Linked DNA regions of Homo sapiens: region 1 is linked to region 2. The links are contacts of gene promoters, found by promoter capture Hi-C in human tissues and cell types (Jung and others, 2019). All regions are on one chromosome and are shown on one strand. The core of a region is centred on a gene start or on the middle of the fragment in contact, and the rest is flanking DNA. Distances in the headings are between cores, read along the strand shown.

Region 1 (4,997 bases), core at 142-2,641, 180 kb before region 2:
CAGCTACTCCGCCTACCAGAACCATGGGTCGGGGAAGGGGGAGCAGAGAACATGGGTTTTCTCAAAGCTTTCCGCATCCTTATTTGAACAATGACACAATGTGGGAAAATGTGAATGTGGACTAGATATCTGATATGAAGGAACTATTAATTTCATTGGATGTGATAAGAGCACTGCTATTATATAACTAAGAAATGGCCTTATTTGGAGTAAAAAATGATATATCTGGGATTTTTAAAACCACTCAAACTCTTCTTTAAAATGTGGGGGAAACAGATGAAATGAGATTAGCAGAATGTTGAAGCTAGGTGAGTGGTACATGGGGTTTGTTACATTATTCTATCTTTTGTGCTAGCTTGAAATTTCCACAATACAAAGGTTTTTGTTTTGTTTTGTTTTGTTTAATTAAAACAAACAAACAAAAAAAAAAACCTTCCTGGTGACTGAAAGGAGCTGCGGAGCTGATCCAAGGCAAGTGGGACTCCAAGAGGAAGCTCAGCCACAGGATCACCTCCACTCTGGTGTCCTGGGATTTGCAAGCATAGGAGGCAGATGACTTTGTCTAAGTCCACGGAACGTTCTGACCAGCCTTTAGCACTGCCACAGAGAAAGCCCCTGATGGCAACGAGTACTCAGCGAATCCTGCAGCAATGTCCGGACCTTCAAAGAAACTAATTGTAAGATAATCTCCATGGAAACCATCTATTCTGATTTTTTTTCCATGGCAACCAATAAGAACATAAACACAAGCACTATCCAACACCCTTACACCACATGGCAATGCTGCTGTCCAATCTGGAAAATATAAACCACAAAGGGTTTTTTTCCATTTAAAATGAAAAGAAGTTCTGAAACTTCTAATCTAGGCATGCAGACTCTACCACCCTCTGTTGCCCTGCCACTGCCCACACCACCCCATGTCATCTGCCCCCCAAAACTGACAAATAAGGCCAGAAGGTAGCTTCCTTCTTTTAGTCTGAGACCATCAAAAATGCCAAAAGGAAAGACAGCCCGCCTCTAGCCTCACACACTCAACTTATGCTGCCCACAGACGTGAGAATGCTTTGACTTCCTGAGCATTTTTTATGTGTCAGACACATACTGAGCACCATGGCAAGAGCAAGGCCCCAGCCCTCCAGGGAGAAAAGTTAGGTCTGTAAATAACAGACAACAGGAGAGCGGGGCTGCTCCAGGTAGGAGAGTGCTCCAGGCAGGTGGAGCAGGAAGAACTCACCAGCTGCCAGCCTCCCAAGGAAGCCTGCATGGAGGAGGTGCCATCTGGAAAGAGACTATAAGGATGAGCGCAACAACACTAGGAGCAGTGAATGGTGGCCCCAAAAATCAGTCAGACTTAAGCGACAGGTTTATTTCTACCTGTGGCTCATTTATTTCATTTTCAGGTTTCTGAGCTTAAAAAAATAGAATGAAAACAAAAGAACAAAATAAAAGGGAAGAAAGATCCTTAAATGCCAAAGCCCTCGGTTCTTGTGCACCCTCTCTGCTTTGCAGCAAACAATTGTTACAAGACGATTCTTGTGGCCTCTGTGGGCTCTCCTGTGGAGAGGTGATGATGGGGCTTTAGATTGCCTGTCATCACTATTGGCAAAAAGGCAGTGTCATAGCAGTGGCCCCAGTGTGTGAAGCAAAAGGTCCTTCAAGGCATGCAGCCTGGCTCTGCCTGGGGCCATGTGTGCCTTGTAGGAAAGCATCACAGTGTTGAGACTCCACTTTCTGTCCTGTGACTCAGGTTCATTTCCCCACATGCACATGTGGAAGCTCCAATAACCCTAAGCCCAAGCTTTGGCTGCCAGGGGAAAAGGAAAACCCAAAACAGTTCTGGAACTCTCGAAAGAGATAACGAAGCTCTCAAAGGAGTGTGTGTGCCTGGGTTTATATGCCAAATGTGTACTGATGCACGCAGAGCTGGACCCAAGGGCCTCCAGCCTTTGTCTGAGTTCCTGAGTCAGGTTGCTCTGTCTTCCTGATACTGTGATTGTCTTAATATGCTTTTCCCTGGATGTCTGAGAACACACCTCCCATTGGTTTAAGTCATTAAATAGGCCTTCCTTCCTCAACATCATGAACTCTCCTCTGGAGAGGAACCTACTTGCTTTTAGAATGGATGGAAATTTTTCTAGTGACAGGAAACACCATTAGCCCCTCAAGGGGGCAGTTCAGAGAAGGGAGTTCTGGCTTCCACTCCAACCTTGCCACCTCTACCCTAATCGCTGTTTCAGGGCTTGTCTCTGCTCTTGCTACCTGGAGGCACCTCTTCAAGAGGCTCTGCAGGCCGGGCACGGTGGCTCATGCCTGTAATCCCAACACTTTGGGAGGCCAAGGCGGGCAGATCACCAGAGGTCAAGAGTTTGTGACAAGCCTGGCCAACATGGTGAAACCCTGTCTCTACTAAAAATACAAAAATTAGCCAGGTGTAGTGGCAGGTGCCTGTAATCCCAGCTACTCAGGAGGCTGAGGCAGGAGAATCTCTTGAACTGGAAGGAATAGGTTACAGTAAGCCGAGATCGCGCTATTGCATTCCAGCCTAGGCAAGAATGGCTAGACTCTGTCTCAAAATTAAAAAAAAAAAAAAAAAAAAAAAAGAGGCTCTGCAAATAAGACCTTCATCTGGGGTTCAAATGTTAAGCCATATACACCCAAGCCATCTCTGGCTCAGACAGAGACTCTCACCCATCTGCTTCCCTAAAGTCTAGCAGGCTGTCTGGAGGATGGGAGCTGGCCTAGGCATCCACATGTGCAGGGTGAGAAGTGGGAGACAGGACATCAAGACAGCAAGGGAGACACCAAGGATAACACAGGAGACAGGTGGCCTGGAGAACACAGATTCAAGAATAGGTGACTGGACTAATGGCAGGAGTACTAAGGGGCAGGACAGAAGCTGGGACAGAACAACAGGGCTGGCAGAGGCTCACAGCAGAGCCACAGCAAGTCCCATCTTCCTTACTACTGATGTCCTCAGCTGGTAATAAAACCACACGCCTGCCTGTCTGGTTGTAAACAGAGCCTTGGTAGATGCCTTTGGGTTTAAAGGGCCCACGGGGCAGCACTGGACTTTCTTTCTTGCTTTCCTTCTTTTTGAGACAGGGTCTCACGCTGTCACCCAGGCTGAAGTGCGGTGGTGCAATCATAGTTCACTGCAGCCTTGAACTCCTGGGCTCATGCAATTCTCCCGCCTCAGCCCTGAATAGCTGGGACTACAGGTGCATGCCACCAAGCCTGGCTGGGCTTTCTTTAAACAGTACACTGAGATTAGAACTCAGGTTGGCTGGGCGTGGTGGCTCACACCTGTAATCTCAGCACTTTGGGAGGCCAAGGTGGGTGGATCACCTGAAGTCAGGAGTTCAAGACCAGCTGGCCAACATGGCGAAACCCCATCTCTACTAAAAAAGTACAAAAAATTAGCCAGGTGTGGTGGTGCATGCCTGTAATCCCAGCTATTCGGGAGGCTGAGACATGAGAATTGTTTGAACTCCGGAGGCAGAGGTTGCAGTGAGCCGAGATCGCACCACTGCACTCCAGCCTGGGTGACAGAGCAAGACACTGTCTCAAAAAATACCAAAAACAAGCAAACAAACAAACACACAAAAAAGAACCAAGGTCATACCCTTTTCCTCTTCTGCAAAGCAGCAGACTACAGTGGGCTGCGAGGGACACTGATTTTCTGATTGCCTCTCCCAAGCTGTACCCACGACGAGTCATAGAAACTTCGAAGATAAAGAGACTTTCTTCTTCCCTTAATTCCCCTGCCCAGGATGCCATAGTCACAACAGGCTAGACTGTTTTCCAAAAGACCAGTGGTTCTCCAAGTGAGTCCCTGGATCAGCAGCATCAGCATCACCTAGAAATCTGTTAGAAATGTGAATTCCCTATTAAATCGGATACTCTGGATATGAGGCCCAGCAAGCTGTGTTTTAACAAGCCCTCAGAGTGATTCTGAGGCACACTAAAGTTTGAGAACCACTGCAGGAGGCTTACCATGATAACTGTCAAATGTTAAAAGGCCTGTCTCTTCACCATCACTGCCTGGGAAGCCCAGCTAGCATCTCCTAATGGATTTCTGCAAATGCTGTCCTCATGCTTATCAAAGGCAACTCCTCCCCCATGGGAAACTTAGTAATTATTTAACATGTACCTAGTAATAACGTCAGTGGTAGCCTCTGGAAGAAAAAGGAGCTGGGACCCTGCCCTGGGCCTGGGTGGCCCCACTTCCAGGAGCACTGGCATCTTTGGTGCTCCTGGATCTTGCGAACACCACATTACTCACCAGCCACTGGCCAAAGGTGCTCTGTTTCAAGCAGGAAACATTCTACAAAAACTGTAGTTTGGGGCTGGGCACGGTGGCTCACGCCTGCAATCCCAGCATTTTGGTAGGCCAAGGTGGGTGGATCACCTGAAGTCAGGAGTTCAAGACCAGCCCAGCCAACATGGTGAAACACTGTCTCTACTAAAAATACAAAAGTTCGCCGGTGTGGTGGTGTGCACCTGTAATCCCAGCTACTCAGGTGGCTGAGACAGGAGAATCGCTTGAACTCGGGAGGCAGAGGTTGCAGTGAACTAAGATCGCGCCACTACACTCCAGCCTGGGTGACAGAGAGAGACTCCGTCTCAAAAAACAAAAACAAACAAAAAAACAAAACAAAAACAAAACCTGTAGTTTGGTAACAAATATTGAATCTTCTTTATTTTTAGTATCCACTCTCTTCCCACTGAAACTAAGAAACCCAGAGCACTTTCCACGAATTCTATTGAGATAAAGGTGGAGGAAAATGCAACCCGAGTATGAAAGGGGGCATCTTATCTGGAGGCCTCTGCCACCCAAAGCAAAGGCTGCTGTGGCCTCTCTTCTGCAGGAAGGTCTTTTGCAGAGTGAGCCCATGAAATGAAAAATGCACAAAGGATGCAATGCAGAATGCTGGGGAGAAATCGGGGTGCAGAGAATTGAGACAACCTGCGTGAGGTTACAGGAGACACGCCACCTC
Region 2 (4,744 bases), core at 6-2,505:
TGAGACAGGGGCCCAGGTTGGAGTGCAGTGGCGTGATCAAGGTTCACTGCAGCCTCTACCTCCCAGGCTCAGGTGATCCTCCCATCTCAGCCTCCTGAGTAGCTGGGACTACAGGAGCATGCCACCACACCTGGCTCTTTTTTTTTTGGTAGAGATAAGTTTCGCCATGTTCCCAGGCTGGTCTCGCATTCCTAGGCTCAAGCGATCCGCCCACCTTGGCCTCCCCAATGTTGGGATTACAGGCGTGAAACACTGCGCCCTGCCAAGAAACATGTTTCAATAAAATTGTTAGGAAATCAAGTGTGTGATTTGTGATGCAACTCTCTCCTCTATCTCCCTAAGAAAACATCAGTAAAAACAGTGAACTGTTTTGTATTTTTGGAGTCTGATCAGGACTCATCTTATGAATGTGGGAAGGCATCCAGCCAACACAGGGTAGGCCCCGGATGAGAGTAGGGACAGCGAGGTAGGCCCAGAGTCATTAGCGTTTACATGCCGCTTATGTGCTTGAGGATCGCAGAATGGAACTCTTGCTAAGCCAGAGCTGTATTTGGTGGCCCATGGTGGGAGAGGGAAGAACAATAATAAGTTGTGGAATAAAAGCCATGGAGAGGAGCGGGAATTACTTAATCTGGCTCCAGAAGGGGTGAGTTGTGGGGAAGTAGTGATTCTCAGTTCGTTTGCTCAGCCCAGTCAGTGCCTGACACTCAGGGTGCATCTGCTGACTGACCGTACAGGATAAAGGAAGGGAGAGGCCGGGTGCGGCGGCTGAAGTCTGTAATCCCATCACTTTCGGAGGCTGAGGTGGGTGGATCGCTTGAGGTTAGGCGTTCGAGACCAGCCTGGGCAACATGGCGAAAGCCCGTCTCTACTAAAAAATACAAAAATTAGCCCGGAGTGGTGGCACATGCCTGTAATCCCAGCTACTCGGGAGGCTGAGGCATGAGAATCGCTTGAATCCGGGAGGCGGAGGTTGCATTGGGCCGAAACCGCGACTCTGCACTCCAGTCTGGGCGACAGAATGAGACCCCGTCTCAAAAAAAAAATCGGCAATCGGTGAGGCGGGGATTATTACCCTCAATGTAGAGATTTAAAAAATGAGGACTGAAGGTGACTCCTTCCAGGTCTGTCAGTGGCCAGCAAAGAGCCAATATGCTAAACTCTCCCCTCCCGGACACCGGCTTCAGCCAGAGCTCGCACCCGCCTGCGCCGCTCCACCCACCCACACTTCCGGCTTCCGCTCCGCCCACCCCCTAGTACTTCCGTTCTCCAGCGCTGGGCACCGCGGCCGGAGCTGTGGGCTGGTAAGTCTGCGCCGCCAGGGCTCGCATGGCCTTCAGAAGCGGTCCCTGGGCTGGGCGATGACGGGTCCTGGTGGCAGCAGGCCCTTCTTTCTCGCATCACCGGGCATTACGCGGCAGCCATTTCCCTCGCTAAGGCCCTACCTTAGGATGACGTCACTTCCGGCCCCCTACTGTCTAGGGAAAGCCGGAAATGGTACCAGCCTTCTTTGATGGCGGGGAGGAGTCAAGACCGGTAGTCTTCCTATTTCCGTTGTTTTGCTCTGGAGCCTCCCGGAGTTTCGGAGAGACCGTGTCTTGGATAGAATTGGAGGACTTAGCAAATAAAAATGCAAAGCGTCCAGTTACATTTTTTTTGAGTTAGAATCTCACTCTGTCACCCAGGCTGGAGTGCAGTGGCGCGATCTCGGCTCACTGCAACCTCCGCCTCCCCTGTTCAAATGATTCTCATGCCTCAGTCTCCCGAGTAGCTGGGATTACGGGCGCCCACCACACCCGGCTAATTTTTGTATTTTTAGAAGAGACGGGGTTTCACCACGTTGGTCAGGCTGGTCTCGAACTCCTGACCTCAGGTGATGCGCCCGCCTCAGCCTTCCAAAGTGCTGGGATTACAGGCGTGAGCCACTGCGCCGGGCCACGTCCAGTTAAATTTGAGTTAAGATAAACGACGAATAATTGTTAAGTCCTAAACATTGTATGCACATACTTATACTTTAAAAATTACTTGTTTATTTGAAATTCAAATTTAACCGGAAGTCCTGTATTTTCTCTGGCAGCCTTAGCATTGAGCGTCCCCCTGTCCTGTGCTCATACCCAGTGGCAAGGCTGGGATCTTCTAGGCTCTTGTCCATCTGGGAAATAGATACAAATTTCATCCAGGCTATAAAGACCGGCTGTCTTAGTTGCTAAGATGCTTTTAGCTCCAAGTCCAATGGGCAAGCTCCAGGGGTCCCCCTGGCCAAAACTGGACCCATTTTCGGAATCCCCATGACGATGCCCTCTGTGTTCCCTTTCACAACAGAAGTCAGGCATGGCTGTCTTTTCTTACCGGAGAGCTGAGAACTAGGCAAGCAAAATGGTCAAAGTCTAGAAGTAACCACCATATTTGGGTGTGGGGTAAACCGGTGTTTGAGATCTGTGTTGCAGTGGACAGTATCAGAGAGCCTGAGGTTGTTAAGGGAAGAGCGTAGTGTTAATCTCACCCCATGTCTCATTTTGCGGATGAGGCCCAGTGAGAGAAATGGAGGTGTCCCAGCCACTCAGAAAGCCTATAGTAGAGCTGGAACCTCAATTCCCAGCCTCCTTACCCTGCTCAGTCCATACTTGCTGATGAAGTCAGCTTGCAACATTTATGGTAGGCATTTATTAAAGTAGATGCAATAGTACATATGTAGTACAGATGAGCTGTTTGGGTCTTTGTTGTTCCTATACCCCTCTACAGCTTCCTGACCTTCGCCCCAAGGCTTCTTTAGCTTTTACTCTGCCCAGTGGGGAAAATGGCTATGGGCTCAGTTATGGGAGCCTGGCCTTTGCCTACTTCAGCCCTTGGGCTCTCACCACTGTGGGTGGTGTGACCTAGGACTTGTTTTTGTTATCTTGGAACCAGAAGGCGTGTTCTTGGCAGGGTTGGGTCTGGCCAACTGTGTGGGTAGAAGGGCATCCTTTTCTGTCCTGCAATTGGGCTTCATGGCACATGGCCTCACATGGTGCCTGGGGACTTTTCTAAGGTTCCACCATGAGCCAGACTTTGCCCTCACTCCTGATTTGAACCTAAACCTCTTGCTGAACTGGTCCTGCATACTGAGATTCCTCAGATTGCTTGCCCTGAGGATGTGTTCTGGGTTTGACCTGATAAACCTGCAGCCTCCTATAGACCCTGACTTCCCAGGCTCCTAATCCCAGTCTCATGAGATAATGAAATAGAGAAGACTGGAGGTCAATGGGCTCAGGGTCAGTTGGTGGGACAATCAACAGCTTCCTGGCAGCAGAGGTGGTAAAGAGGCAAGGAAGGAGTGCCAGAAAGGGGCGTTGCCCCAGGGTAACAGCGCAGAAGTGCAGGGGGTGGAAAAGGGGTGGGATGGGAGCCCACTGGTAGAAATTACTCCCTCTGTCAATGATTAACTCCCAGCCAAAGGGGTGACCTGGGAGGAGGGCCCAGCTAATAGGAACTTTGGACTTGAGGCAGAGTATCCAGAGGGCCGGCATGTGGTCTGCAGAAGAGGAGGACGTGGCTGGGTGGCAGGGCTGGTCTCCAAGGACGAGTAAGATCCTGCAGCTGCAGGCTTCAGGAAGTCTCCTGGGGCTATCAGATGGCTCCTTCTTGTAGCAGCAGCTGTGGGGTCCACTGGCCCTGAGCCCTCAGAGGGGCGGCCGTGGGGGACCTCCTGTCTTTTGCCTTGCAAGGGCCTCAGTTGTGCTTTTTCCCTCTAGGCAGCCATGGGTGCCAGGCAGTGCTGAGAGCAGTGGGGCATGGCTGCAGCCCTGCAGGTCCTGCCCCGCTTGGCCCGAGCCCCCTTGCATCCACTCCTCTGGCGGGGCTCAGTGGCCCGTCTGGCCAGCAGCATGGCCTTGGCAGAGCAGGCCAGGCAGCTGTTTGAGAGTGCTGTAGGTGCAGTGCTGCCGGGCCCCATGCTGCACCGGGCACTATCCTTGGACCCTGGTGGCAGACAGCTGAAGGTGCGGGACCGGAACTTTCAGCTGAGGCAAAACCTCTACCTGGTGGGCTTTGGCAAGGCTGTGCTGGGTATGGCAGCTGCAGCTGAGGAACTACTGGGCCAGCATCTTGTGCAGGGCGTGATCAGCGTTCCCAAGGGGATCCGTGCTGCCATGGAGCGTGCCGGCAAGCAGTAAGGAGCCATGGGGGCCTGCCTCCCTCTATCTATCTGGAGGGAAACCTGGGCCCAGACACAGGCTGAATCGGGCCTCCCCTCCCCACCCGCTTCCCATTTCTCCTGGATCTGGCCTGGCCCCAGGATGCATGTCAGTGGGCATCTTCGTTCATGCCCCCATCACCTGTAAAGTTGAGAGATCAGGTGGGAGGAGAGGAGTCCACCCCATCTCTTGCGTGCTGACCTTTCCCTCCCCAGGGAGATGCTGCTGAAGCCACATAGCCGTGTCCAGGTATTCGAGGGTGCGGAGGACAACCTCCCGGACCGCGATGCGCTGCGGGCTGCACTGGCCATCCAGCAACTGGCTGAGGGACTCACAGCTGATGACCTGCTGCTCGTGCTGATCTCAGGTGTGGTACCACATTGGCCCAAGACTGTTGGTGGGGGGTGCACCACCTGATCTCTCAGGTCTTCGAGAGATCAGGTCTGAGCCCCCGGGGTCACAGGGTAAAGTTAGGAGCAAGGGAGGTGGTGAGGAGCCTGGATGGTGACTCCTGGGTTGCCTTGGGCTAGTCGTCTGGCCTCCCCTGAGCTGTGGAGTCCTCCCCCTGAGCT

Evidence for each region. Contacts are between HindIII fragments. The study calls those that stand out against the background at their distance.
Region 1: a fragment that was not itself captured here is called in contact with the fragment with the promoter of GLYCTK in region 2 in 1 of the 25 tissues and cell types used here (dorsolateral prefrontal cortex).

Annotation. Positions count from the first base shown.
Region 1 is chr3:52,109,077-52,114,073 of GRCh38, forward strand. All of the region lies in intron 9 of POC1A (POC1 centriolar protein A), which reads right to left. Among named protein-coding and RNA genes, the nearest start is that of POC1A, 43 kb to the right of the region's middle. The HindIII fragment of the contact is 6,699 bases long and covers 1-4,741 here.
Region 2 is chr3:52,286,573-52,291,316 of GRCh38, forward strand. GLYCTK (glycerate kinase) reads left to right here and starts at 1,256. Exons shown (of 5, transcript NM_145262.4): 1 at 1,256-1,304; 2 at 3,732-4,147; 3 at 4,388-4,539. The coding sequence starts at 3,771. It overlaps GLYCTK-AS1 (GLYCTK antisense RNA 1), which reads right to left and starts at 3,161. Exons shown (of 1, transcript NR_046719.1): 1 at 2,008-3,161. LOC107986086 (a long non-coding RNA gene) reads right to left here and starts at 1,448. Exons shown (of 3, transcript XR_001740699.2): 1 at 1,261-1,448. RefSeq lists enhancers at 841-1,582, 888-2,087, 914-1,023, 3,827-4,327. The HindIII fragment of the contact is 16,985 bases long and covers 1-4,744 here.